6 separate regions of the Homo sapiens genome follow, and all the other regions are linked to region 5. The links are contacts of gene promoters, found by promoter capture Hi-C in blood cells and fetal thymus (Javierre and others, 2016). All regions are on one chromosome and are shown on one strand. The core of a region is centred on a gene start or on the middle of the fragment in contact, and the rest is flanking DNA. Distances in the headings are between cores, read along the strand shown.

Region 1 (4,720 bases), core at 1,328-3,827, 570 kb before region 5:
CTCTCTCTGTGTCTTCATTTCTGTCTCATTCTCTCATTTTCTGGTGTTGGCCCTATAATCCCACTTCTCCAACTCAATATTTTCCTCAGACCCCTTCTCCATAGCATTTTTTTCCCCTGCCTTCCAGCCAAAGCTCCTGGTGGCGTTCACAGTAAGATTAGATATTTTAATGTTAACTATTAACGGATGATTTCACTTTTGAGTAGGAAGGGTTGATATCAATGTTATTGATAAAAGATAGTAACTTAATTTAGGCCAAAAAAGTCACTGGGCCATTCAGTGGTTCCTCTCTGTGTGTGTCTGAAGGCCCTGTATGTCTGCATATTGTATCAGCCCAGGGACATGCTATGTATCAGCAATTTTAACTCCATTAGAATCTCCCTCGCTGCTTTTTTGGCAAAGTATTTCTATTTTTTTCCATGCCTTTTTCTATCTCTCTGTGTAATTCTTGTTGAACAAGCAGAACCTGCATGATGGTCAGAAAGCAACTCTATTTCTTCTCTTGATGCCTCTTAAAACCCTCTCTGTGGGGCTGGCTCTTCCCTTTCTCTTGGAATGAAATCTCTAGCAGATGCCCTTGACTTTTAGAATCATGCTAAGAAATCGCATGATTTCTTACTTCTATTTATATAAAAATAACTTCTATTTACATAAAAAAAATCTTATTTCAGTAATCAGAAGGTCTTTCCTTGAATGTTGGATTTCCTTCTCTTTCCTACTTGGTACTACTGCAGGAAGGAAGGCTGCACAGGAAAGAAGAGTATCTTCTCTATTAGCTACTAGAAGTTTTTAATTTTCTTCCCTTGCTCACCCAGCTGCCTCTTGTCCATTTGGGTAGGGGCTGCAAAGGAATGAGAAAGAAAGACCTGAAAACTTTGTGAACTGGCATAGGAGCTTTCTGGGCTTGGCAGGTGCTTATGGCTGACCTTTCTCCCGTGGAGAACTTGAATGTGTCCTTCACAGACTCTCCTCTCCCTGCTGGCTGGGTGTTGGCCACAGTTCTTTAGTATAACAGGCATGTCTGCTTTGTCTAGCTGTGCATGGCTCCTGTAGCGCCTAGGCATTGGCAAGCTCTCCTACAGCTTCTCTTGGCTGGTATTCCTCATCTTCACCTCTTGGACAGGATTTTAGACCACCTGGACAGCCAGTTTTCCCTCCCTTATGGCTCATATCTGGCCCATGGGAACCAGATATACATCCTCCCCTTTCACTGTTTATCAATCACCATTGCGTAAGTTTTTCTTGATATTTGTGTATTTTTGCTCATTCATTATATAAAGGGGGAAGAATGTTCTACGAAATCCTCATGGACATGGTTCAGGGTTTATCCTATTTGACTTTACTGCAGTAATTGTTACAGTTGTGTCCTATATTTTAACCCTCTTCCCTTTTGGTCCTCTGTGACATGGGTAGACTCCCACTTACAGCCTCATCTACTCTCCTTCCCGAGCCCTTTCTCCTCTGTTGAATCCTTTCAACATCACCTGCACCTTCATTTTTCACCCTTGCTGCTGATATTATTATCCACCATTGCTGAAAGTACCAGCTCTGCATAGAGAATCCCAAAGCCCACCCTCTTCCCTGAGCTTTAGGTCCCAATACTAACATCCATTGGATGTACTTTGGTACCTCAAGCTGATTTTACAAAATCAGAGTTCAACACCTTCCACATTTTTCCTAACATGCCCCTCTTGCTCCTCTTATGCGCTCCGACTCTGTGAATAGCATCCTGTCCACCAAGACTTAACAAGAAACCTGGGATCATCCCAGACTCTTGCTTCCTACTCAACCTCACACCAAATGTGCTATCAGGATCTGCAGATTCTACCTCCTGAGCCACAGGCTTCTAAGCCAGGGTGTGTTTGGGAGCTGCAGGCACATTTCTCTCAAGTTGGTCCCCCATTCTCTCACAGCCATGGTTGCTGCCTTTATTGTGGCATCATCATCACAGGTCTCCCTGTCTCCAAAGAGTCTCACCACTAATTCAACCCCCACAGCATTGCCGAAGTGAATTTTATAAAACAAAAGCTTAATTTTACTATTGAATTTAAGATGAGGCCCAAGGCTCTTGGTTGGGTCAACAAAACTCTTACTAATCTGGTGTCTACTTTCAGCTCGGTCTTCTACTTTTACCGTAGATTCTGGGGTAAAGCTACTTGCAGTTTCCAAAATATGCTAGACTTTTTTTATTTTTTTAAACTCCGAGTTTTTGCTCTGCCAGCCGAGTCCTCCCTCTCTCCTCCTCAACCTTGAACTCATAGGAAATTCTCCTTGGGCATGATTTCTCTCACCTTCCCAGGCAGTTAGTTGCCTTAGCCAAGCTCATTCTGAAATTTTTATCCCCATATTTTGTAGTTATTTACTTCCTGATCTACTCTCTCACATGATGTAGTGTAGAGATCAGGAACCAATTACTTTTTAAAATCTCTGTTTCTGCAGTGTCCAGTGTGTGTCTTGGCACATGTTGGCCAGGCAATAGTTAATGCTTCTTGTCAATAAGGAGATGGAATAATATTTCAATGGTTTCGCAATTGCTTTTCTCTCTAACTGGAGTATCCCCCTCCTTTTTGCCTTATTGATATTTATTTTTTATCTTCTATATACAATTTGAAAATTCCACCTTCCATGTGGACTGCTCTGGACCCCCACCCTGCTGCAGTTAAGAGATACCATCTCTGAACATGCCTGATGTGCTCCCCATGGATTGACTCCCCACCTGTTCTGCCGGGGGGCAATGCTGTCTTCTGTCTCATACAGTGCCCTAATCCAGGAAAGGGCTTTCTTATTATTCTTTGCATCTTTAGTGCTGGGCCAGGGCCTGACATATAATAGATGCTCAGTGAATATTTGGGAAATAAATGAATGGATATACAAGACAAAGTTCAGCAGGGGAGATAAGAATCAAATAAACTGTCTGTCAGAGGAGGGAGATCCAACTTTATGGAGATGGAGATCTGTTTCTCAGGGTCAGCTTCCAACATGAATATATCTGTATGAGGCCCAGAGATTCCAGGAGGCAGGTACCGCTGGGCTGTGTAGGCTGAAAATCCCAGATCTTGTTGGATTTGTCCAGGATACAGCCGCCATCTGATCCAGGCTCCCAAGCAGAGATGGACTCAAGCTTCAGCGAGTGTCCATCTCCCCTTCCCTGCAGCTAGGGTTTATCTTGCCCTGCACCTCCTCTTCATCCTCCAACATACACACACACACACACACACACACACACACACACACACACACACACATTCTCTGCCTGGTGAGACCCACTTCAGGAGAACTGGGGAGGACACAGGATGGAGTGGACTTGGCAGGGAGGTAGCTGGGCCAGGCACGGTAGGGAAGGATCCTGTGGGTAAATGGGAGTCATTCTCTTGAGTGAAGCTCTACCGGACTCCTCTGTGGAGTCCACATTTTACCTGAGGGCTCCTCCTAAGGTGCCCACCAGGCTTCTGTTTCCTTTTTCCTCCTGTGACACCATCACCTTCCCAGCTACAAGCAAGGGCAATAAACTGGGGGCCCACTGGGGCAGATGTCTTAATGGAGAGAGCAGAGATGAAGAGAAAATCCCTCAGCAGGTTGAGAGTGACTTCTGCAGGCTCAGGGCACAAAGCGAGATCTCTTTGCACAGGTAAGGAAGGCAGTGAAAAGCAGAGACCCATTTCCTTCACTGAGTGTGGGATCACAAAGTCAGGAAATTTGGGGGACATTTTCAGATGATTTGAAGTAGTTCTTGTCAATTTCTTAACCAGCTTTACAAGGTCTTCATATTTTTTAATAAAGTGGGAGGCAGCACTGTGTTTCCCTAATGATCTTCTTTTGCCACAGGAGGCAGCATGGGCTGGAACAGTAGCAGTTGGAATAAGCAGCTTTATCTAATCAAACTTTAGCTAAGATGTGAAAATAACCTAAATGTCCATCAACAGATGAATGAAGAAAATGTGGTATATACACATGATAGAATACTATCCAGCCTTAAAAAGGAAAGAAATTCTGCCTTATTCAACAACATAAATGGCCCTTGAGGACATTATGCAGTGAAATAAGTCAAATACAGAAAGACAAATACTGCATCATTCCACTTACATCAAGTATCTAAAAATAGTCAAATTCATTAAATCAAAGGCTGTAACAGTGGTTACCAGGGACAGGGGGAGGATGAAATGAGTTATTAATCAACAGGCATAAAATAATTAAGTAAGATGAATAAGCTCTAGAGATCTGCTGAAGAACTTTGTACCCATAGTCAACAATATTGCATTGTATTAATACACTTACAATTTGTTAAGAGGATAGAGCTCATGTTAAATATTCTTACCACAAAAATATAAATAAATTTAAAAAGAGGATAAGGAAGGGGAAGGATGGTACACCTGGCCCCCAGGAAGGTCCTGAGTGTACTTTTGTCTAATTCCTGCTGTTTTCTGGGAAGGACCTGGGAGGAGTCACTCACCACCTATGGAGGCCCAGTGGCCTGGGAAGGTCTTCTCCTTGTTGCTCATGAGAGTTGGGGTCTTGTGGGCTGTGGGGTGCTCAGGGTGGGAGCACGAGGGAAGGAGGTGTGTGTGATGAGTGAGATAGAGTCCCCATGCCTCTAGAGGAAAGGAAGAGTCATCTCAGCATGTTCAAAACAGGCTTAGGAGCAGACTGAGGGGTCAGCTCTCTTAGGAGAGGAGGTGATAAATAAATGTTGTAATTGTCTTGATTGAAGCTGAAGGATTGG
Region 2 (4,786 bases), core at 892-3,391, 530 kb before region 5:
GTGAGGGAGGATAGGGAAAACAGCGCGTATTTAAATGTACTGCTCTTACCAAATGTTATAAAAATAATATTTAATATTCTACTACCTCTGTCACAGGAGACATGAACTAAAGAAACTCTGCAATGTCAGCGTCTTAAAATTCTTTAGACAATTCCTTTTGTAATCCATTGGCAAGATACATGGTGTTTACAAAGTTATTCAGCAATCACATGCATTGGAACAAATTGTCATGGAGTATCCAAATATAGGAGCCCCAAATCTAAATAGTCAAGGCTCTATTATCTGTAATTCCAATTGCTATAGGTAGGTGTGTGGATTTTGGCAGGGCTAATGTAGTGGAAAGATGAGATGTCTGGAAAATCATGAAATCACAGAGTAATTCAGTAGAATATTAAATGTTATTTTTTTCTAGTCACAGAGGTAATAGCATATTCTTTCCCTCAGAACTCACAAGATTGTTGTGACACTCATGTAAGGCAACACAATTTAGAAACTAAAATCATTATTTTTTTAACAACTATTTATCTAGCACGTACTCTGTTTCAGGTATTGGATCATGTCCTGAGTGTAGGTGAAGTTGCAGTCTGACTACTCAAAGTGCTCGCAAGCTCAAGGGAAAAGGATATGGGTGGGGAATCCACTTAATGCAGATGGGTTGCACTTAACACTTAATGCAAAGCTCAGAGTGTTTTATGGGACTCTTAGGTAGGGTCACCTGCCCTAATAGGAGGGATCCAGGAAGGCTTTTCATTGAAGTGATGGCTTTTAGAGAATTGTGTAGACATTAACCCGGTAAAACAATAATAATATGGCATATTACAGGTTAGTAAATAAATTCACTGAGGATAGAAAAAACTGGTATGTCAGCAAAATTACAGAGTTTGATACATGACAGCACACAGTTCAAAAAGTGGAGTAATAAGGAATGAGGCTAGAGGCGAAGGAAGGGCTATGTAATGGACCTAGAACTTAAAGTATTTTAAGCATGCAAGTGATGTAGTCAGATTTTACTTTTTAATGTATCACTCTTATGGCAATGGAAAGATGGATTTAAATCAAACAAGATAGAGGAAGACAGCTATATTAGGAAGCTATGGTAATAATCGAGCAAGAGATGAGGAGGCTCTGAACTAGGGCATGGCAGTCAGCATAGAAGGAGAGAGATGGATTCCAGAGATACTTATGCTGTTGAACTGTCAGAATGAGGAGTTTAGATAAGTAGCATGTAGTAGAGGCGAAAATGTCAAGGTAACTCAAGTAGCTGGGTGATTATTGGTGTACAGGATAGAGAATACTGGAGGTTCAAGTGGTTTGTGGGAAAGATGATCAGCTTGTTGGTACTTGAGGATATTTGGACAGAGATATCTAGAGGGCAAGGGGATATTTAAGTTTGAAGTGAGTTCTGGAGTGCAAATGTAGATGAGTGAGTTAGTAGATTTGTGATGACTGAAACCATAGGAATCATTGATATTGTAACTAGAGAATGCATAGGATGGTAAGATCCATGGAATGAGCACCAGAGGACTCCATTTGGCATTTAGAAGAAGAGGTTCAGATCAAGGAGGAGAAAGATTAAGCACAGGAGTAGGAGAATATTAAGTGGATATTATGAAAACCAGTAAGTAGAGACTCTAGAGAAAGATGGAATGATTGGCACTGTGACATGTAGCAGAGAAGTCTAGGAAGATAAAAACGGAGAATGACTCAGTTTATCTGACAGAAAGCTTGGAATAATTTCAGTAGATGGTGGGCTAAATCCAGACTGCCATGGGTTGAGGGGTTAGTGAGATGTGGGACAGAAGAGACAGCAGTTGTAGATGACTCATTTGACAAACCTCTAGCTAGACTAATAAAGAAAAAAGGAGAGAAGATTCAAATTAATAAAATCAAATATGAAAGAGGAGATATGAAAACTGATGCCATGGATATAAAAAAGATCCTAAGAGACTGCTTATGAACAACTATATAGCAATAAATTGGATAACCTAGAAGAAATTGATAAATTACTAGAAACATGCAACCTACTGAGACTGAATCATGAAGAAATAGAAAATCTGGACAGACCAATAACGAGTAAGGAGATTAAATCAGCAATATAAATACTGTGATCAAAGAAAAATCCAGGACCACATGGCTACAGTAGTAAACTCTACCAAACATTTAAATAACTAATGTATTAATAAATTATTATTAAACTTTTCCAAAAATTGAGGAGAGACCACTTCCAAATTCATTGTATGAGGATGGCATTACCCTGATACCAAAGCCAGATAAGAACATTATAAAAAAATTACAGGCCAACATCCCTGATGAATATAGAAGCAAAAAGATTCAACAAAATACTAGCATACCTAGTAGTCCATTAAAAGAATAATGCAACATGATCAAGTGGGATTTATCCCTGAGATGCAAGGATGGATGGTTCAATAAATTTCTTTCTTTTCTAAAAAAAAAAAAAGATGGTTCAGTGTAGGCAAATCAATAAATGTGATACACTACATAAACAGAATAAAGGATACAAATTGTATGATAATCTAAATAGAGGCAGATAAAGCTTTCCACAAAATACAACATCTTTTCATGATTAAAACACTCAACGAATTAGGTATAGAAGAAATGTATCTCAACATAATAAAGGCCATATGTGAGTAACCCACAGCTAATATATTCGAGGGTGAAAAATTAAAAGCTTTTCCTCTAAGATCAGGAGCAAAGCAAGGACACTCACTCTTGCCATCTCTGTTCATTTCTAATTCTATTATTTTTAAATTCTATATTCTCAAAAACTTAAAGGCATATTATGTAGTAGCAGCATATCTTTATTTATTAAAATAGAAATAATTTTATTGGGAGCTTAAAGAACTAGGCTATAAATGTTAAATCAAGTAAAATCAAATGGCCCTTGGGAAATGTCATCCTCTCTCTCTTTCCCCTTTCCTCTTCTTTCCACTCGCCTGTCTTCTACCCTCTCTACCTTCCTTCGTTTCTTCATTTCTGGGACTCCCATAAAATAGCTTTGTCCTTCTTTTCAAAATCTTTAGGCAAATCAGGAACTTTGGGACCAGGTAATTCAGCCTCATAATTCCCAGCTTTACACGGTTGTTTTACTAGGCTTACTATTTATTTTATTTGCACCTTACAAAAATGTCCGTCAGAGAAGTATTATTATTACCATTTCTCAATGAAGAAACTGAAAATTGCAGAAATGTTAAGAAAATTGCTCAAATTTACACACCTAATTAGGACTTAACTCAATCATTGTGTTTATACAGTGCCAGTTTGCTAACATAGTATTTACTCACAGATTTATTTATTTCAATTTTAAAATATCTTTGAACATTTAAATATTTAAACACTTTGAATAAGCAAAAAATATACATGATACCAAAATTCAAAAGAGAAGAAAATGGTCATGCAGTGAAAAGTTAGTCTCTCCCCCACTCCTATTCCCTAGATACTTAACTATTCTCCTGAGATAACCACGGTTACTAGTTTATAAGTAAACTCCAGCAAACCCTCATGTAGATACTATGTGAGTTTCAGAGGTTTAATTTGCACAGAGTGCTTCAAGTGCCCATTATTTGTGAAAAATGAGGATCATCTGTCCTTTAGCTATTTTCTCTCTCTATAAAAAAACTGTCCTTTGTGAAGCTGGCAAACCTCATTAAGCATTCTTTTCTGAAAAGCCCAATCCTCCTTCAGTTTATCAAGCATAAATGATAAACCAAATAATTTATTGGTAAAAATAACTTTGGAATCTATTAGTAATTCATGAGGCAAAGAAAAGTAGGTCTAAAATTGTGTTGATAGAACTGTTTTAAGTCACGTAATCCTTAGCTAATTCTTCAGCATGCATCAGCTATGGTTCCTAGGATTTCAACATGAGAAAGAACGCTGTGAAAGTGCCTCACCCATCCCAGGAGCATCCCTGTTCCTTCTGGCATCCCTGAAGTGTGTCAGTTTCCTGATAGTAACTTAGATGACTAAATTGTTTAGTTTCAGAGTACTAGGGAGGGATAACTAGCCTCATGTTGTTCCTCTGAGATGCTGAGAAAGAATTTAATAGTAGGGCTCAACTCAAAGACGTTCCTACCTCTTCAAATTCCCATGTTAGGTCCTCAGTTTTTTTTGTTTCTCTACTGTACCAACCCAATCAAGTTTGAAACATTGCAGATACAACACAGCATTCTTCTGGGTAAAGAGCACAAGGCAAAAATCTTCCCTGAGAGGGGCTTTCTCAGGAAAACAAGGTGCCGACCCTGTAGGTGCTATGGTACCCATGCCGTCTAATTAGTAGTGACTACAGCTAGAAGAATGGGGGATGCAGGGAAAGGATCTTCACTAGATAGGCCTCACTCTAAACAATGCCATTCTTTATTATCTGTTTTTGACATGTTTGAAATTATTGGTTAGTTATGATTAGTTATTATTCTTATTTCTTCTACATTTTAGAGTTTATATTTCTTAGAAGACCCACTATGTAATGTGCATAATTTTAGGCCACTCTTTGAGTTTTTGTAGGAGACTTTTGTGGTAGGTGTATTTTTTATTTCTGTTTTACAGCTGTGTAAACTGTGTTTCAAGGAGGTTAGGAAATATTTAGTTCCACACAGTAGTGGTGGCTGTAGATGTATGCATAACCAAGGTACTCAAGTTTTTTCCAAGTTGGGACAGTGAGTAATACTAGCTGAAGTGTTAATATGGTTAAATAAGCTATACTAAGAAATTATCCGTGGGATCTGTGCCAGCTATACTTTACTTATTTAGGTAAAAACATCCATGAAGT
Region 3 (5,011 bases), core at 2,345-4,844, 660 kb before region 5:
GCAGGTCTTGAAGTGCTCCTTGGTCTCCTGGGCTCAAGGGCTCCACCCACCTTGGCCTCCCAAAGTGTTGGGATTACCCCGGCCCAGCATTTTTATTCAAATCCTTCGTTATCACCCATGCCCCAAGTATCCACATGTATTGGGCAATGAGTATTAGGAACTTTTGCATAGATCACCCCATTTGACCTTCACGAGAACCTTGTGAGGAGGGCACTATTATCCCCCCCACTTTATACATGAATAACAGACTCAACTTAGGTAGTGTCTGTTTCTCCGCACCACCATAGCCTCGTGTAGGTTTTGCAGAGATCTACCTCCAGGCCGATGGTAATCCATTAGCCACAAGTCTCTGCTTCTGTTCATTGTCACCCACAAGAGCACTGACAGGTACTATCTATCATCCAATCGTGGTAATTCTGTGACTGCTGAGGGAAAGAGGAATTCTGTGACTGCTGAAGTATGTGTTTGTGTGTGTGTGGGGTACCAACACCAGTGCTCATTATTATTCATTAGTCCATTTTCCTTATTGAATGCCCACAATCATTTCATTTATCACCAATATTCTTATGGATCCCAAATCTGGAATTTTCATTATTGACTTTCCCTGAAAGGCAAGAATATCCCTTAACTTCATTCCTACTTGCCTTTCTTCTCTTAGTCTTTTTACACACATGTGATGAGGTTCATATTTCAGGGGTGCATTTTATGGTATTGTGGCCAAGTGACCATGAGCTGGCCCTTAGCCCTCCAAGTGAACTTTGGGCACACCACCCTAATACTGAACCAGGCATGTTGGTAACAGTGTGGTGTTCATATAGTAAGCCAAGGGTGACACGTGGAAGGACTCTTATGCTTGATTAGTGCTGTGGAGTCTGCATGGAGCTTCATGATGCATAGCCTTCTGGTGTTTAAGGAAGTTAAAGGTGTGTTGCTGTTTAAAAGCACAGGGAGTCTTGGTTTAGATGCTAGTTTCAATGAAGCCAAGGATACTTGATCAACCTTCTTGGTTTGCTATTCTGTCAAATTTGGGCAACAGTGAAATTCTCTGGGTTGCTATCTAAAGGAAAGAGAGGAAGAACTCACAATATTATGAAGTTGAAGGATAAAATACATATGTTCAAACCGACTAAAGTAAGAGCAAGCAATATTGCCTTCCCTTAGGAGGGCTTTCATTTAGAGATGAGGGGGATGAGGGAGGGATGGACCCACCAGACAACAGATATGTGCCTCACGGGCTCTTCTCCTCATGAGGTGAGTCGGAGCCCCAGAGCTCCGGAGCCCCATTGTTGACAGGGCCTTCTGTTCATAGGCTGTGGACATCAGGGCCTTCTCACATACTGTTTCCTCTGTCTAGAATGTTTCTCCCACCTTCATTTCTTTTTCTGGCCAATTTATATTCAACCTTCAGTTTCCAGTCTTAAGGTCATGTCTTCAGAGAGGAGCCCTCCTTCTGCCAGCCATAAATTCATTCATAAACTTTTCCCTTTCCAACGTTGCGCCATTTAAAGCTTATCTTTAATTCTGTGGCTATTTATTTTATATCTGTCTTCCTCACTGGCCTGTTCCATTTATGAGGGCAGGACCTCCCCAGTGCGTCCCTAGCTCCTGAGTGATGCCAGATACACCAGCACGTAATGGTAGCCCCATAAATATTTGTGGAATGAACGAATAGCTTCAGTATCTTCTTTTGTAAAACTGGGGTTGCAACTGGTGACCTGGGCCTTTTCCAGGTCTGAAATGCTTTGGAGTCTAAGAGTCCTAGTGTGGGCCCTAAGTCCCAGCGGCTGTTGGTGTGGAAGCGGGGTTTAGGGAATAGCAGCAGAAGGGCGCTGGAGTCCTGCCCTGCCTCGCCAGTAGGTGGTGCAGGTGAGCTGGCTCCATGGTCAGGGCTGGGGCTGGGCCAGCCCTGGTGGGTGTGGAGTGGGAGCGCCCTTAGCTGAGCCATTGCCCAGACCTGCCTAATGAGGAGGCAGGGCACCCAGCAGGTACAGGCACAGAAAGGGAGGGAGAATGGCTGGAGATACAAACCTGCTGGGACAGTTGCTTGCTACACGGGTGGGGGGTGGGGGTGGTTGGCATCCTGGTACGTCTGGCCACAAAACTGCTCTTGGCACATCAGGGGCCAGAGTGGTGAGGCTGTCTGTCCCAAGAGTTGGAGGTCAGAGGAACTAAGCCTCCCCTGCCTCCAGGCTGGGGCCCCAGCACTGCCTTGGGACTAGTCTCCTACCTGTCTAGTCTCCTGCTAGCACTGTCCTCATGTATATTCATGCCCACGTTTTACCTCTTTCCCCAAGCTTCCTTCCCAACCCCCTACCACTCAGCAGAGAAAATTGAGGCCATCTGGCAGGATCTCTGTCCACTTCTTGCAACCTTGCAAATGTTCTTGCAACCACATTCCCAAAGCTTCCTTGACATCAGCTTCAGAGGGTCAACTTTTCACTCCTTCCTTCCATCCCATCCTGTTCACATTCCTTGAGCTCTCTTTTTAAACTCATCACTTTTACCTCCTAAATTTATATTTACAGTGGAAACTTTTTTTTTTTTTTTGAGACAGAGTCTCTCTCTGTCTCCCAGGCTGGAGTGCAGTGGTGCGATCTTAGCTCACTGCAACCTCCGTCTCCCGGGTTCAAGCGATTCTCCTGCCTCAGCCTCCTGAATAGCTGGGATTACAGGTGCCCACCACCACGCCTGGCTAATTTTTGTATTTTTAGTACAGATGGGGTTTCACATTGTTGATCAGGCTGGTCTCTTATCTCCTGACCTCAGGTGATCTGCCCACCTCGGCCTCCCAAAGTGCTGCAATTATAGGCGTGAGCCACTGCACCCGACCACATTTTTCTTTAATACAGGTTCAAATTCTGCCATGTATTTATCTCTCAATGTGTGTGTGTCATAGAACATCTAATTCATGCCCAAAGCCAAACTCTTGATCTTGCCTCAAAAGCTCTCCTACCACAGTCTTCCTCACCTCAGTAAATGGCACTTCCACTCTCAGGCCTGGTATTGTGGCCAACTGACCCTGAGCCTGCCCTTAGCTCTCCAAGTGAACTTTGGGCACACCACCCTAATACTGAACCAGGCATGTTGGTAACAGTGTGGTGTTCATATAGTAAGCCAAGGGTGAGATGTGGAAGGACTCTTATGCTTGATTCATGCTATGGAGCCTGCATGGAGCTTCATGATCTGTAGCCAAATGACAAAAACCTTGGGTCACCACTGACTTCTTCTTTCCTCCCATTCTCCTCATCTGGCTGGCTCTGCCTTAAAAATATATTATTTCAGCCACTTCTCAGCCCCTCTCTTGCTACCACTCTGGTTCAAGTCACCTTTACCTGAAGTGCTGCAATAGCCTCTTAATCGGTCCCTCTGATTCTGACGTCCTTCAGCCCTTAAGTCTATTCTCAACACAGAAGACAGAGAGATCTGGTTAAAATCCATGTCAGATCCTGTCTTTCCTCAGCTCAAGACCCTCTGATGGCTCCCCATGTCACTCGCAGTAAGAGCCAAGGTTGTTACCAAGACCTAAAAGGTCCTACATGATCCAGCTTCTCATTTTGTCTCTGACCACACATTCTACTCTTCTTTCTCTCACTGCTCTAGCCTCACTGGCCTCTTTGGTGTTCCTTGACCATCCCAGGCAGGCTTCTGCCTCAGGGTCTTAGCTTTGCTGTTCCCTCTGCCTGCAGTGCTTTTCCCTCAGATACTCACATAGCCCTCTCTCTCATATCCTTCAGGCTTTTACTCAAGTGCCACTTTCTCAATGAGGCTTTTCCTGGTCACCCCACCCACAACTGCAACACCCCTTCCTGCCAGCACTGTCTCCTTTCTTTGCTTTATTGCACCCTCTTTCATACAATGTATTTACCCATTTATCTTGTTTATCTCCCCCAACTAGAATGTCAGCTCTGTGGAGGGTAGGGATTTTCAGCTGTTTTGTTTTCTAGTTCTTGTACATAGTAAGAATCAAAAAAATATTTGTAGAATGAATATATTGAATGCATCTTCACATACTCTCTCTCTTCATGCTCACAGTTTATAAAGATACTCAAGATTCTTTCATCCTGAAACAATTTGGACAAAACAACAACAAAAATAAATCTGTTTTAACTCCACTGCTCTCTCTAGTTACTTTCTAATCTCTTCTTTATTCTTCTCACTCACATCTCTAGAAAGATTATTCTCTTTCTCACGTCTCATTTACTCTGCACTACACTTATGCCCTTACCCCCACTTGGCGCTGCTCCACTGAAATTGCTCTTACTTGGTTTCCTAAGGACGTCGTAAAGCCAAGTCCAAGGGGGCAGTTGTCACTCACTCCTCTTCTTACAGTCTTAACTGTATCTGACACACCTGATTATTTTCTTACATATTTTTGAAACCTTTCATTTCCTGTGGCTCTGGTGGCAATACACCCTCCAGATTTCTTTCTTCTTGTCTTTTCATTGTTTTCCTTAAGGGCTCCTTTCCCTCCCCCATCATGAGGATCCTCTCCATTTGCTTTCCCTGAGTGATGTCACCAGGTATTTTGTCATCATGTCTTCTTAGGCTCCTCCTGGCTGTGACAGCTTCTGGGACATCCTTTGTTTTTGATGACTTTGACAATGTTGAGGATTACTGGTCAGGCATTTTGTAAAATGTCCCTCAATTGGGATTTGTCTAATTTTTCTCATGATGAGAATGGGGTTATGGGATTTTGGGAGAAAGAGTGCAGAGATAGCAATGAGCACACCTAGTAGCCAGATCTTGGTTTCTAGTACCATTCTCTAAGAAATAAACCAAAGCTTCTTGGAGAAATGGCTGACTCTAGGATTGGGAAGAAATATACAATATAAGCTTGGAACCTCTTATAGTACCAGTAAGTAAGGCACTACTCAAAAATAGTAATAGTAAAATGGTGGGGTAAATAAAAAAATATGAGAGCCAACTGAAAGAGTTCTTAACAGCTAAAATCAAACAATTTGAACAAGAACATAAATGAATTAGTATTGGATTATAACCTAGAGCATAAAAT
Region 4 (4,881 bases), core at 468-2,967, 590 kb before region 5:
TGCCATAGGTATAGTAAGTGGAAGATGATGGAAGACAAATGATTATTGATGGGGTAAATGTATTAATGAAGGAATACAGAAGGTGGATGTGGGAGAGCTGGGAGTAGAGGAAAATCTCATTTAATTGAAAATGGGAAAAGATTTACTTTGAAAGAAGCCCCCATTTCCTTAAAATGGTGGTTCTGTGTTTGCTGAAGTTGACCAAATTCAAGGGTCTTTAAATATGATGATGTTCCCTTCCTTTCTCCTTAATTTAAAGTTATGTTCTCACACACAGGGGCCTGTTGTGGGGTGGGAGGAGAGGGGAGGGATAGCATTTGGAGATATACCTAATGTTAAATGACGAGTTACTGGGTGCAGCACACCAACATGGCACATGTATACATATGTAACTAACCTGCACGTTGTGCACATGTACCCTAAAACTTAAAGTATAAAAAAAAGTTATGTTCAATCTCTTAACTTGAAGGGGTAGGTTTAAGTCATTTCCTAAGAAGAATATTTGGCTAAAATCAAAAATGTCTCAAATGTTTATATAGGTTTTGGATGCTTGATACCTGAAAAGTTTTTAAAAGGTAAGCTGGGGAGATCAGGAAGCATTTTTGACCTTTGAGACTGGTTCTCAGAGGTTAATGTGACATCACCATGAGCCCCATTGAGGTCCTGGCAGTAGACAGAGGCCTGAGAGTGGAAGGACTTGGAATACCCAGGTGTATATCTGAAGAGAAAAAGTCATTTGGGGCATCTGGGAGAGTAGGTGTAGGGTGGGGAGACTCATCCTTCTTTTTCTCCTCCTTTTTCATCTCCTCCTTTCAATTCTCTTCCTCTTTGTATTTTTCATCTTTTCTTAGAATGCTGTTGAAGAGACAAAGCAACTCTCCTGTGTCCTAGAAAGCAAGGAATTCATCACAGATTTTAATAATATGTTCTTTCAGTCACTCATGGCCCCTATGTGATGTCGATGCATTTCCCTTCCAAAATGACTCACAGTTCCATGGAGAATATGGCCAGAGGTAAGCCCCTGTGCTCCAGAAGAAGGCCTCTTCCTTGGTTTTGGGTGGAAGGTCATGGAAGGCTCCTGGGGGAGGGGATGTCTGTGCTTTGTCTTACCGGACAGTATGAGTTACCCAGGCAAGGACGGTGGACAAGGGCATTTCAGGTGGCCTCTAGGAAAGAATCCTTGTTGGGAGGCTGTTGAAGTACAGAGATACAAGTGAAATGAAAGGATAGATGGAGGCCAGCTTAGGAAAGGAATGAGCAAGAGAATCCGGGAAGAGACCTTCTTAGCTGGGATTTCTGGAAGTTTCCTGTGACAGGATGCATGAGATGACCTTGCTCATGTCATGTATGCCTGTGACTTTGGTTAAGCCCCAGGACAAGGAGACTAAATAGAAATGTGCAGAACAAGAGACTAGATCGTGTTCTCATGGAGGGGAGGTGAGCCCAGTTAGGTAGAGCCCAGAGTTTGACTCCTCTCACTGGATGCCCTGCCTGCCATCAAGTTGATTCATGACAGTGGAACAATCTTGAAATTGACCCCAAAGTCCTTCTGTGGTAGGCAGAATAATGGCCTCCTAGATATGTTCGCCACCTAATCGCTAGAATTTGTAAACACGTTAGGTTACTTGGCAAGAGAGACTGAAAGTAGTGAATAAAATCAAAGTTGCTAATCAGACTACTTTAAAATAGGGAGATTATCCTTGATTATCCAGGTGGGGCCAACATAAGTGTACGGCTCTTAAAAGCAAGAAGAGTCTGTCAGAGTGATGTGATTTGAGAAAGACTTAACTGGCCATTGCTGATTTTGAATATGGAAGGAGTCCACGAGCCGGAAATGAGGGCGGCTTCTACAGTCTGGAAACAGATTCTCCAGTAGGACCTCCGGAAAGACGTGCAGCTTTGCAGGCACTCTATTTCAGTCTGGTGAGACTTCTGTCAGCCTCTGAGCTCCAGAACTGTCATAGGATTCACTTTTGTTGTTTTAAGCCACTAAATTTGTGGTAACTTGTCACAGAAGCAGTAGAAACCTAATAACCTTCCTAGTGCTGGAGGCTCTTGGGAGCTCTTGAGGAAGGGAGCCTCAGATGAAGAATAAAATCTCATTTACCATTCCCTCATTTAAATATATTCCTACTTGTCATGTCAGCATCCTCAATCAAAGGCTAGCTTTTGATAAAGAGGCACTGAGCTGGGCGTGGTGGCTCACGCGTATAATCCCAGCACTTTGGGAGGCTGAGGCAGGTGGATCACTTGAGGTCAGGAGTTTGAGACCAGCCTGGCCAACATGGTGAAACCCCGTCTCTACTAAAAATACAAAATTAGACGGGCGTGGTGGCGGGCTCCTGTAATCCTAGCTAATGGGGAGGCTGAGGCAGGAGAATCGCTTGAACCCAGCAGGTGGAGGTTGCAGGGAGCTGAGGTTGTGCCATTGCACTCCAGCCTGGGCAAAAAGAGTGAGACTCCATCTCAAAAAACAAAGCAAAACAAAACAAACAACAACAAAAAAGAGCGACTGAGATATATGGAGAAAGAACTCAGGATTCCATTCATCTGGGGTTGACTATCACATAGAGTATATGCAATATTGGATAAGTGATTTAACCTCTCATAATCTCAATTTCCTCTTGTTGAGAAAGGAAAATACTATTTCACAGATTTCTTGTGAGGAATAAATTAGACAATGTATGCTCCAAAACTTAGGGCCATCAAGCTACTTATGAATATTAGTGCAATCTGAATCAGTTCAGGACTCACCTCCTCCATGAAGCCTTCCTTGATTTCCCTGGTTCTTCTTGTTCTATGTCCTTTGCTCTGTCCCTCCAATACTTGGTCTTTGACTTGAATTTTTTTTTTTTTTTTTGAGATGGAGTCTTGCTCTGTCGGCCAGGCTGGTGTGCAGTGGCACGTGATCTCGGGGCAGTGCAACCTCTGCCTCCCAGGTTCAAGCGATTCTCCTGCCTTAGCCTCCCAAGTAGCTGAGACTACAGGCACATGCCACCACACCCAGGTAATTTTTGTGTTTTTAGTAGAGACGGTGTTTCACCATGTTGTTCAGGCTGGTCTCGATCTCTTGATCTTGTGATCCACCCCCTTGGCCTCCCAAAGTGCTGGGATTACAGGCGTGAGACACTGCACATTTTTCTTTAAAACAGGTTCAAATTCTGCCATGTATTTATCTCTCCACGTGTGTGTGTCATAGAACATCTAATACATGCCCAAAGCCAAACTCCTGATCTTGCCTCAAAAACTCCTCCTACCACAGTCTTCCTCAGCTCAGTAAGTGGCCTGGCCTCATCATCTTTAAAATAGGAAAGTTAGACTTTCAGTCAGGTCCATCACATCTCTGACATTCTGTGATACTGTAAATGTGATCACGAATGGGTAGCCTGGGTAACTGTGTAACTTTGTAGTGTGTGGACACGTGTGTGGGCACTTTTTCCTTGGTCAGGTTGTAATGTACCCATAGGAAGACCCAGTCTTCTGTCTTCTGCATGCGGCAGTGGCTCACCCAGTGGCTGATTGACCTTAGGTGACCTGTCTTTTCCTAGGTGGGGAGTGGGAGTATTTGGGGCCTGAGTCCTCAAAAATCAATCTTGGTGGCCCAGTATCTGGGGTTGTGGATTAGAAAGCTTTGGAAAAATTGTCTCACCCCAAATCTTAAGATAAGGTGACTAAGTTGTTTCTGTGATCATCCCCAGCCCTCCAGCAAGATTGGAGTTAATCTGATTTAATGACATCTGAGATTTAAGATTTTAGACTTTTGGAGCTGTCATTATTGGGAGCCAGGGCATAATTAGACAGGATCAGCAGAAGAGTCTCAGGTGTGTGCAAGACAGTTTTTTTTTCTCCCATTCCCATCAAATAACTATCTCCTCTGTTCAGATCTTAAAAGTCCTCAGACTCCTCTGACCCATTCATCTGCATATTACAGGGCAATGTCTCTGATAGAGCTGAATGGTGCAGAATTTGGTTTCCTGCAGAGCGGGTGCCCCTGGGCAGCTTGCGAATTCCTGGGAGGAAGTCCACCACTCCTCTCCCTTCCTTTCCTCCTGTGTCACCCACACAGGGGGTCTGAATCAGAGGTGTGAATTCAGGAAAGAGCTGTAAATCACAAGCCCTCAGGGCCAGACGGGACTTGAGAGGCCACCTGATTCTATCTCCTTGTTTTAGCCCCAGCACGTGCTTTAAACAGGAGACACAGAACTATTTATTGACTGCGTTTTTTAGATGAGGAAACTGAGGCACAAAAGTGTCAAAGATCTTGTTCAAGATTACGTGGTCAGCTCATGTCTGGTCTGGGCAATGGTCCACATAAAAAACACTTAGCTATTGTCAATAATGCCGCAATAAACATACGTGTGCATGTGTCTTTATAGCAGCATGATTTATAGTCCTTTGGGTATATACCCAGTAATGGAACCAACCCAAATGTCCAACAATGATAGACTGGATTAAGAAAATGTGGCACATATACACCATGGAATGCTATGCAGCCATAAAAAATGATGAGTTCATGTCCTTTGTAGGGACATGGATGAAATTGGAAATCATCATTCTCAGTAAACTATCGCAAGAACAAAAAACCAAACACCGCATATTCTCACTCATAGGTGGGAATTGAACAATGAGATCACATGGACACAGGAAGGGGAATATCACACTCTGGGGACTGTTGTGGGGTGGGGGGAGGGGGGAGGGATAGCATCGGGAGATATACCTAATGCTAGATGACGAGTTAGTGGGTGCAGCGCACCAGCATGGCACATGTATACATATGTAACTAACCTGCACAATGTGCACATGTACCCTAAAACTTAAAGTATAATAATTAAAAAACAAAAACAAAAACACTTAGCAGACCAGTGTATTGGGGATTCCTTA
Region 5 (5,102 bases), core at 1,143-3,642:
TAAGGGCAAAGTTACTTCCAGCATAGCTCTGACACTAAAACTTAACAAAGCCTTGAGGACCCCATTCAGCATGTTCCTAAAAACATGCTTCTGGCACACCTGTCCTAGCCTTTCACCAGCTTTCCACCAGGAATTCCCACTCTTCCATTCATAATTCTGCAGAACTATTTTTTTTTTTTGAGACAGTCTTGCTCTGTCACCCAAGCTGGAGTGCAGTTGCGCGATCTCAGCTCATTGCAACCTCTGCCTCCCCAGCTCAAGCGATTCTCCTGCCTCAGCCTCCCGAGTAGCTAGGATTACAGATGCCCACCACCACACCCAGCTAATTTTTGTATTTTTAGTAGAGACGGGGTTTTGCCGTGTTGAACAGGCTGGTCTTGAACTCCTGACCTCATAGAACTCTTAAAAGAATGCATGGTATTGCAGTTTGTTCAAAGTGGAGTGATAGGCAAAGGGGAAGAAGGAACTAATATCCTCTAGCAGTGTATTTTGTACCAAAGAACAAGCATCTTCAGGCTTTCATATACTCTGATCAAAATAACATTTTGCTTAAAATTACAATATAATTTAAATTCATGATTATTAGAAACTTAATATTGTCTCAATTGTGATTATTTTCCTTGGAAGAATATATAGTATAATAAAGATTATTTTAAAATTCATTACAGTGGTTTTTATTTAGAGGCTATGGCATATTGTATTGTATTATTAGAGATGAATTCACTGATAAATTTATCACTGATATAACTAAAACCAAATAGTAAATAATATTCCATTTTTATGAATTCATCATATACAAACTTCAAGCATTATCACAGGTATTCATTAAGTGAAATGCATACAACCCCATCAACCTCATCATTATCAACAAATTCAAAGAAATTTTAATGAATTACTAACATAATATATAGGATTAAATTCAGCCTTGCACATTTCACAGACAGCCAAAAACGGATGCCCCTTTTTTCCCATTAAGTGTGATTTCTGTTGATCCCACAGATGGAGGTCACATTTTTATACCATCTGCACCTCCCTCCACTCTACCCCTCTGCCCCCACAGTGCCCAATGCCACCTTTAAGATGCCATGATATTCCCTGAAGACACTACCTCTCAAGCCATGGCCCCAGCTCCATTCTTCCACCCCTTACTCAACCCAGGTCCAGTGAGCTCAGTGCAGCCAACATCTCAGGACACAGGGGCTGATTCCATCACCTATGTAAAGGAATCCACAAAGCAATGGGGACTGACACCCAAAGGCAGTGACCCCAGCCTGCCATGTTTGTGCACACTTGTGCTGCGTCGCTTAGCACATAGGATGTGATTTAATTGCTCAGTTGTCCATCTGGCCTTCTGAAAAGCTGTGAGCTAGTCAAGGGGAGAAATGTGTTCTGTTTGTCCCCATATTACCAGGCCCCACAAAGGACGTACCCTGGCTTCAGAGCATGTGAGCTGAATGAAGAAAAAAAAGTGGAACAGCAGCCAGAGGGCCTGAACGGTGGATAATTGGACCGTCATCGAGATTTCCTGCTTCCCTTTTGTCATTCCTCAAAATATGCGCCTTAAGAATATGCTGAAAGCCTGGTCCTTGGGAGTGTGTGGTGCTTCCCCTCCCTTTGGGGAGCAAAGGAGGACACATAGTTGGGCTGTGCATCATAATACCCAGGATAAAAGGGCTGAGGCCCTGGGTTCCTCAGTCCACAATCACCTCAGGAAGAACCTTCTCCTGCCTCCACCAAACCAGGTGAGCGTCCAGCTGGCGAGAGGACCTGGGCTGAAAGGGCTGCGCAAACACGTCTGTGCTTCAACAAGGAGAGGGGAGGAGGCAGACACGGTGGAGGCGGCAGAGAGGCTGTGGTGGGTGGCCGGCTGGGACTGGGATGGGAGATGGGCGGGATAGTGAGGAAGACAGACAAGTCTGCGAGCCACTTCAGGGGCTCCGCGATGCTGCGACCTCTGAACCCCCTTTTCCTCATGTGCGCAGAGATGCGTTGCCTCCTCACACCCTGCGCTCACAGGCGTCCAGAGAGACGCCACCCTGGAGGGTCATGGGCGTTGTGTTCACGGGACGCCTGCAGGGGGAGCTGTTCGCATCGGGTCCGGAGGTGTGACAGGCCCCGCAGGGCGTGCGCAGGAGCCCCAGAGGCCCACCCAGGAGTGTCAGCTGCCTCCCAGGCAGGGGAGAGGGCCGGAGGAAGGGGCAGTATCAGGCCGGTTTAACTTCAGATCCGTTTGCATTCCCCTTCCCCAGGTCTTAGCTGGAGGGCAGACTGAGTTTAGGGGAAGGGATCCACAATTAAACCAAAGCATGAGGAGGCCCTGGCCTGAAACCTGCATTGACACGTATTTTGCTTTGCTTTTATTTTGCCCAGGCTCCCTGACCTCCTGCCTAGATGTCCTGCCAGCAGAACCAGCAGCAGTGCCAGCCTCCGCCCAAGTGCCCTGCAAAGAGCCCAGCACAGTGTCTGCCTCCAGCTTCCTCCAGCTGTGCCCCAAGCTCTGGGGGCTGTGGGCCCAGCTCCGAGCGCAGCTGCTGCCTGAGTCACCACAGATGCCGCAGGTCTCACCGTTGCCGTTGCCAGAGCTCCAACTCCTGTGACAGGGGAAGTGGTCAGCAAGGCGGGAGCTCCAGCTGTGGCCACAGTTCTGCGGGCTGCTGCTGACCTGAGCCACGAGATTAAGTAAAAATATTTGAGAAAAGAAAGTGCCAAAATGACTGGAACCAGCCCTAGCCTGGTGCTTCTTTGCTCCTGTCTCCTCTTTCCTACTGAGATGTTCCTTGATGAGTTTCAAGTACTCCCCCAGGGGATTTATCCTGCTGGTCTTAGTGTTTTCCCTCCTTCTTTAATATCCCTGTGCTGTGAAGAATAAAGCTGTGCTTTCTCGTTGCAAGCTCTGTCCAGTGCGTTCCCGTCTTTGCCTTACAGGGGCTGCCCCACATTGGGTACATAGGCCTATCTTAGGAACAGACACAAGTGGGTCATACACCCCTCAACTCACAAAACCCTTTTAGGGGGGTTGTATATTAGTGTGGGAATGAGGTGAGCAGTCTTTCACAAGGTCAAGGACAGAAGCATGAGTTGGAAATAAACACAGAGCTCTGGAAAACAAAGGGAATGAGCTTACTGGGCCCGTTCAGATCCTTCCGAAAACACTTTGGTAGCTCAGCCCTAGATGGCAGAGAAGAAGAGAAGCTCCAGATGGGAGCAGGTCCTTGGTCCTCTGGTTCCTCCAACTCTGATACTCTGTAGTCTTCATGACCCAGGACCACAGCAGCCCCCAGAGCTGTGGCAGCAACTGGAGCCTCCAGAATGCTCTGTTGGGCATGTCAGTGGGATCTGTGGGCCCATGGTGACTCCGGTAGCAGCTTCCTGCAGAGCTGGAACCACAACAGAAATAGACTGGCAGCAAACAACCAAAAGGATACTTGAGGGTTAGGCACTTGGGAGGGGGCTGACAGTGCTGTTAGTTTTTCCTTTCAGGACATCTCAGCTCAGTGATCCCTGGAAGAAATGAAAAAGTAAATCATTGTTTTCTATCTATCTATCTATCTATCTATCTATCTATCTATCTATCTATCTATCTATCTCTATCTACCTATCTGTCTCCCCTTGTCCCTCACCGTCTTTCTCAGACCCTGACCCTATGACCCTAAGCTCACGTTTTTGCTAACCTAAGGGCAGCAGGGAAACAGGGCCTTGGGCAGGGATGAATTGGCTCAGAATGTTTGCTGATCAAGGTATTTTCTCCTCCTACTTTGATTTAGAATCAGAAAAAAAGGAGATGGGACATGGAGAGTGATGATAGTGATGGACTCTACTCCAAGTAACAGCTCTTCAAACTCTAGCCCCTCAGTAGGAAATTCAATAATTATTCAGTAGATGCCCAGATGTTTTCTGATAGAAGGGAACCAGGAAGTCCCTGTAACACCCAAATATCTGGCCTTGATTATCAAGACTGTTGAAAACTAATTGTCTATACTATTTTATTCATTAATTAATTCATTCAAACAACAGGAATTGAGGACACAGTTCAGATATATGTTGACACAAAGGACTCAGAAATGTGTGAAATATGATTCCCATCCTTGAGATGCCGACTGACAAGTCAGCAATCCACTTATGAGCTGGAATGATATGGACTGTTACATAAGTGTGTGGGAAGTCCATGGGACTTATCCTTTGGATGGTAACCCCCTGTTTCCCTGACAAGAGTGAAGTGTCCAGACATTGTCACTAGTATCATTTGTGGGTGTTGGGTGAGGTTTCTGGCCTGCAAAATGACCTTTGATGGTCCTGTGATGGCCTAGCTAAAGTGACTAAGAGGAACTAATGGGACCCAAGAGCCAGGAGTCCCTGGGCAGAAGGTTTCCTGGCAGAGGGAGGAAATGAAGCTGCCCTTTGAGAGAAGTTGGATCTGAAAGGGAAGCAAGCTAAGATAATGGGAGGCAGAATAGTGTGCAGGCCAAGAACATGGGCACTGGAGTCGGACATTCCCATTGCCTCCCCTCTTTTAAATACCAGGAGAAACCTTGAAGAGTCTAGGGGAAAACAAAGCTAAAAAATAAAGGCAAAATGAACCAGAAATGCTGGAATTAAAAGCTGAGCCACCAATTAGCAGTCTAGATCTGTGACATGACAGACTTGCAAATCTAGCAGTCTAGATCTGTGACATGACAGACATTGCTTCAGCATTTACTTGACTGCACTATTGATCCAAGAGATAGGAATGGTTCAGACACAGGGATGCTCATATCACATTGGCCAGAACGCTTTAGGAAAAAGGAGGGATTGAATGATAATTGATGGGAGAAAAAATAAAGTGATGGACAATAGTGGTAATTAAGTTTATTTCACCAGTGTTTCTGCTGAATATAAATGACAGATGTATACTATTTTCCCATTGCATTTAATTTTTTTTAGGTGGAGTCTCACTCTGTCTCCAGGGCTGGAGTGCAGTGGCATGATATCTGCTCACTGCAACCTCCCAGGTTCAAGTGATTCTCCTGCCTCAGCCTCCTGAGTAGCTGAAACTACCACGAGCCACCACGCCTGGTTAATTTTTGTATTTTTAGTAGAGATGGGGTTTCACCATGTTGGCCAGG
Region 6 (4,653 bases), core at 1,394-3,893, 610 kb before region 5:
ATCTCTTCAGGGTGGTGTCCTAATCTCACGATGGAGGAGATGATTGTACCTGCTGAAGAGAGCTGTTGTATGAATTAGATGAGACGGCACATCATAAATAATCAACACTGTTAGTTAAGGTAGTCATTATTCTTTCAGTTGAGCCTTCTGATGAGCTCTGGACCCATGAGGATTAAGAGTTACACTCTCAGATACATGCCTGAAGCTCTTGAAGATGCTGTTGAATGTATTTACATATGCTTTGGAAATCAAATGAATAGGTAGCAGGGTTGATAATCTAGTATGAAAATTGAGAAGTCAAACCAGTGCACTCTTCTAGATGGACAGCTACCTGCCTCTGAATGGGGCCAGGCCTTTGCTCCACCCACAGGTAGGGTTGGGCTTTCTGTAGGAAGCAGCTTAGGGTCAGCTGTGTCCCCTACAGAGGTCCTTGGCTGAATCCCCAATCTCCTGCTTCACAGCACAAACAGATTATTTTGTCCTGAAAGCAAATCATTTGCTTGGTTTCAGAAAATTCTGTACAAGGCTCCCCTGATCATGAGCTGAGGGTTTCTCTCAGGATTCCTTTGTTTTGAATTAGCTGCAAATGGTTTCCCATTACAATCTCTATTGCCACTCTTTCCAGGACAATGTACAGGTTTGCTCCATGGAATTATTGAGTCAATTGAATTTTGGAGGAAATTACCCAAGGTAGCCATTTTCATGAATTATCAATTATTGTTGACCCATACTCTCTGACTAATTAGGTTCTAGGACCTAGTCCCTTGAGACTTTGAATCATGATATAGAGCTACATCATCTGTCTTTCAACTACGCATGGCAGGAAGGCACAAATCCATTTAATCTAACAGTGTTATTATATTATTAGTATAATTATCAAGGAAATTCTAAGACATTTACTAACACTTAAATGCTTAAAATGTTGCAGTTGTACTGAGATTTGAATGTTGCCACTCATTAAGGATTGAGCTTACTTAGTGCTTGAGCCCATGGCTGATTTTGACCTGTAGAGATTGAATTATATTTTGTTTTTGAGTCCATGCTTAAGCTTGGAGCTACTATATTAATTTTTTTAGTATTCAGAACTCTGTGCTTTGTGGGCACATACTTCAGTACTTTCATTTTATAAGTCAGGAAACAGAGAGTACAAAGGTCATATATGTCATGAATTAGAGTCCAAGTTGATGGTGGGGGTTCCAAGTCCAGTTTCTTTTAAGTGTTAACAGCTCAACTATGTCTTCAGTGAATTTGATTCCTCGCTCACCTTGGCAATCCCTCTCCTGGCCCCTTTTAAGCTGGACATTTCTCCAACATTGTATTTCTTTCAGCATGTTGCTTTTTTTTTCTTCCTCTTTCTGCCTCTGCCTCTGCCAGTTGACTTTGAGGCCCTTGAGGGGAGTGGCTTTGTCTATTATTTTCTGCATATCTAGTAGCTGGCTCCATAGCAGGCATAGAAGGCTCCCATTAAATGCTTATCAAATGAATGAATAGATGAATGGACACAGCATGCCAGTTTGATGAACGATCCTCACATTTGTATTTGACTGCCAACATTCTTTGTGCCAGGGATTTGCCACTAGCCTGTAGTATGGAGCTGGAGACTGGGCTTTCCTTTCTTGGGACCTTGAACTTGGGTGCTCTGAGTGGGTTCCCCTCTTGTGTCACATATGTATGACATACTTCAGGGTCCCTGTTGAGACCTGCTTAGAACCACTGGATGTCATAGGTGGAAGAAGCCATAAAGAGCATCTAGTGCAATCCCATTCTTTCACAGATAAGGGGGCTGAAAAGACCTCATATCCCCAGCTCTTGTACCTAGCCAAGAGCTGCGATCCAGAGGGCAGTCAGATGGACTGATGGTTTGATTTCATGTGAGCTGAAACAGAGTGACTCTTTAATGCTCTTTGAGGCCGTGGGTGGAAGTGCTGCTTTGCTTTGCAACATCTAGGGCTATGGGCACTGAGGTAGATTTGTCACCTGGAGATTCTAGTAGAAGTAATGACAATTACCAACTGGTACTTCTTGCTGCCTCACGTCCTGCCCCTCCTCATGGCCTGTCACAAACACCTTGCACAACTGTCCTTGTCCTCCAAATGCACATGGGGCAACTCTTTCCATGAGTCAGCTCCACTAAGCTGTGTCATTACTCAGGCTGTGTGGCCTCAGGAATGTCACCTGGGGTCTGCAGGATTGGAGTGGGGCAGGGAGCTGGAGCATGGTTCCCTGGTGAGGCTTTGCCTGGGCCGTGTGAACAGGGACAGGCCACATTCTGAGGAGCCTGGCTCTACGCCAGTTCTTGACCCCTGCTCTGCCTCTGAATCTAAAATTCTCATATTTGAAACTGGGTCAAGGTAAACGTGGGTGATGTGTTGGTGGTAGATATGATGATATAAAGACTGGAGTGTCAGAGTCGATGTTTTAACTCCAGCCTGGGTTAGACTTCAGGTGAGTACTCAACATATGACTGGAGAAACACACTTGTCATATTTTGATCAGGGCTCTTTAAAGGTGAGTAAGTTGGATGTGATTTTCATTTTGTATTTTGTACTATATCTTTAAAAAATCCAAGTCCGGAGAGGGTGAGGACAGAGATGCGTACGATGGAGACCCTCACACTTTGTGGGGACATTAGCACTGGGGATCTTCTGAGGCCAGGGACCTTTTCTTTCTCCTCAAACTGGGGATAACCTTAAGGCCAGGACTGTGTCTCTCCACTGCATTCCCTCTGCAGGCTCCAGAGGGTGGGGCTGTCTTCTTCCTCATCCCGGGGTCTCCCTGAGGTTTGCTATGTCCTGTCTTCACACTGGGGCTTCCCTGGCAGCAAGGGCTTCCTCCAACACCGGATGAAGTCTAGGAACACTTAGGCCTCAAATTGAGGAACCTGTGATGGACAAAAATAGTAGCATGCATTACAAAAGGGCAGAATTGTCATTTTCCTTCTGCCTCTGTGGCCAGCATGGCAGGCATTTGGCAAAGGGCAAGGGGAGGCATGGTTCCAGCATCTGGAATCATCACACTGACTTTGTGTATGTATGTGTGTGCGTGTGTGTGTGTGGTATATGGTGTGAGAGAGTGCAGTGTGTGAACCTCATGCAGGTGAGTCTCTGGGGGGTGACGGGGAAGAGGTGCTCCCTCTTCTAGGAGGACATGGTAGGGGCAGAGAAGCAGGCATGGGCTGAGTAAACCCATGCAAAGTCTGATTAGGGCTTAAAGTGTGTTTGCCATCTGGGCCTGACTCAGCCTCTGGTGTCAAAGGTTCAGGCGAGGTTGCTTTGTGAACAGGGTGGAGTAGTCCGGGTCCACTTGTGGAAACTCTATAAATGGAAGCCTGGGCTTCGGTGTTGGCTTCCCTCCTGGTTTGGGGAAGTGCTGCTCAGTCCTGCCTCCTCCCACTCACCTTCCCACACCTGGACACCTGCAGCCAGGCATCTTTCATGAAGGCCTCTTCTGTCCTAGAGTAGGTCTGAGCTGGGATTTTCTTTGAGCAGCAAACCAATCCAGCTGCATCCAGGAACCCCACAGACTGCCCTGCTTGGTACCTCCCTTTGCTCCTCAGTCCACTCTGTTCTGTTCTGGCCTCTGTGTCCCCACTCAGGCTGTCCTCATCAAGGTCACCAGCCACTCTGCATTTCTTGACCAGTTAGTATTGGTTGACTCCATTGATTTTCCTTCCTTTCTTGGACACCTGTCTTCTCTTGTCTTTCCAGTCTCCACCCTCCTAGTTTCTCTTCCTTCACTGACCGCTCTTTGTCAGCTGGCTGTACAGGCTCCTTCTGCGCTGTCCAACCTTGAGATCTTGTGGAGTCCTCAGCTCGGTAGGGCCCTCTCTTCTTCTCCTTGGGTGATCTCAGCCACTCACATATCTTTAAATACCTTCTATGTGATGACAGCTCTCAAATATGTACATTTTTGGCCCAGATATCTCTGAGCTTCAGACATGTACCCACATATCTCCTAGTCCTCACCTCTCTGCATCCACCTAGTGGCCTAAGCCATAAACTTGGGAGTATTTCTGCCTTCTTTCTCCTCCTTTACCCCACACATTGAGTCCCCCTGCTACTCCTGTTAGTTATTCCTCCAAAACACTTAGCGTCACCCTCTTGTCTTTGTCTCCACTGCTGCCATCTACCACCTTTAGCCATAACTCTAGTAGCAGGTCCTTCCTCTCCCTATTTCATGCTTCCTCCAACATCCAGCCTTTATACATTTTGCAGATGGAATAATCTTTTGAAGCTTTGAATCAAATAAAAAGCCTCTACTGAGACCCCTTCGGGGTCTTCCCGATGCATTTTGAAAAACATCTGAACAGTATATACATGTTGTCTGAGGTTTGATGGGATACATGCTCAGGCAGGTGTGTGTTTATGCCTGTGAACAAACCTAAACAGATGCAGGTGCATATTCACCCTGGCCACAATGTGCCCACCCCAAGATAGCCCTATTGTTTAGGGTCTGGGACCCATCAGTGTCTGGCATCATGCTTGGCATTAGGTGCTCAGCAGGAGCTCAGTGAATGGATAAATGAGCTTTTGGTGTCCTCTAAGTGTAAACTCCACAAAAACAGCACTTTTGGTCTGTTTACTGCTACATCTCCAGCACCTAAAGGAAAGCTTGGCATACAGTAGCTACTCAACAAAGATTTGTTGAATGAAA

Evidence for each region. The method cuts DNA at HindIII sites, captures the fragments that hold promoters and counts their contacts. A CHiCAGO score of 5 or more calls a contact.
Region 1: a fragment that was not itself captured here is called in contact with the fragment with the promoter of LCE3A in region 5 in 4 of 17 cell types (M0 macrophages, M1 macrophages, M2 macrophages and 1 more); the score reaches 10.2 in M0 macrophages.
Region 2: a fragment that was not itself captured here is called in contact with the fragment with the promoter of LCE3A in region 5 in 2 of 17 cell types (M2 macrophages and M1 macrophages); the score reaches 8.1 in M2 macrophages.
Region 3: a contact is called between a fragment that was not itself captured here and the fragment with the promoter of LCE3A in region 5, in 1 of 17 cell types (M2 macrophages). The highest score is 5.1, in M2 macrophages.
Region 4: a contact is called between a fragment that was not itself captured here and the fragment with the promoter of LCE3A in region 5, in 4 of 17 cell types (M2 macrophages, M0 macrophages, megakaryocytes and 1 more). The highest score is 9.7, in M2 macrophages.
Region 6: a fragment that was not itself captured here is called in contact with the fragment with the promoter of LCE3A in region 5 in 4 of 17 cell types (M2 macrophages, M0 macrophages, erythroblasts and 1 more); the score reaches 6.3 in M2 macrophages.

What each region holds. Positions count from the first base shown.
Region 1 is chr1:153,195,658-153,200,377 of GRCh38, reverse strand. It overlaps a transcript of SPRR2G not described here. Among named protein-coding and RNA genes, the nearest start is that of LELP1, 5.4 kb to the left of the region's middle. The HindIII fragment of the contact is 1,093 bases long and covers 2,031-3,123 here.
Region 2 is chr1:153,151,819-153,156,604 of GRCh38, reverse strand. It overlaps a transcript of SPRR2G not described here. Among named protein-coding and RNA genes, the nearest start is that of SPRR2G, 3.3 kb to the right of the region's middle. The HindIII fragment of the contact is 830 bases long and covers 1,727-2,556 here.
Region 3 is chr1:153,285,695-153,290,705 of GRCh38, reverse strand. No RefSeq gene overlaps it. Among named protein-coding and RNA genes, the nearest start is that of PGLYRP3, 25 kb to the left of the region's middle. The HindIII fragment of the contact is 2,378 bases long and covers 2,406-4,783 here.
Region 4 is chr1:153,211,589-153,216,469 of GRCh38, reverse strand. No RefSeq gene overlaps it. Among named protein-coding and RNA genes, the nearest start is that of PRR9, 3.6 kb to the left of the region's middle. The HindIII fragment of the contact is 3,829 bases long and covers 1-3,631 here.
Region 5 is chr1:152,620,393-152,625,494 of GRCh38, reverse strand. LCE3A (late cornified envelope 3A) reads left to right here and starts at 2,392. Exons shown (of 1, transcript NM_178431.1): 1 at 2,392-2,661. The coding sequence starts at 2,392. The coding sequence ends at 2,661. The HindIII fragment of the contact is 6,916 bases long and covers 1-5,102 here.
Region 6 is chr1:153,230,174-153,234,826 of GRCh38, reverse strand. No RefSeq gene overlaps it. Among named protein-coding and RNA genes, the nearest start is that of PRR9, 15 kb to the right of the region's middle. The HindIII fragment of the contact is 3,185 bases long and covers 1,051-4,235 here.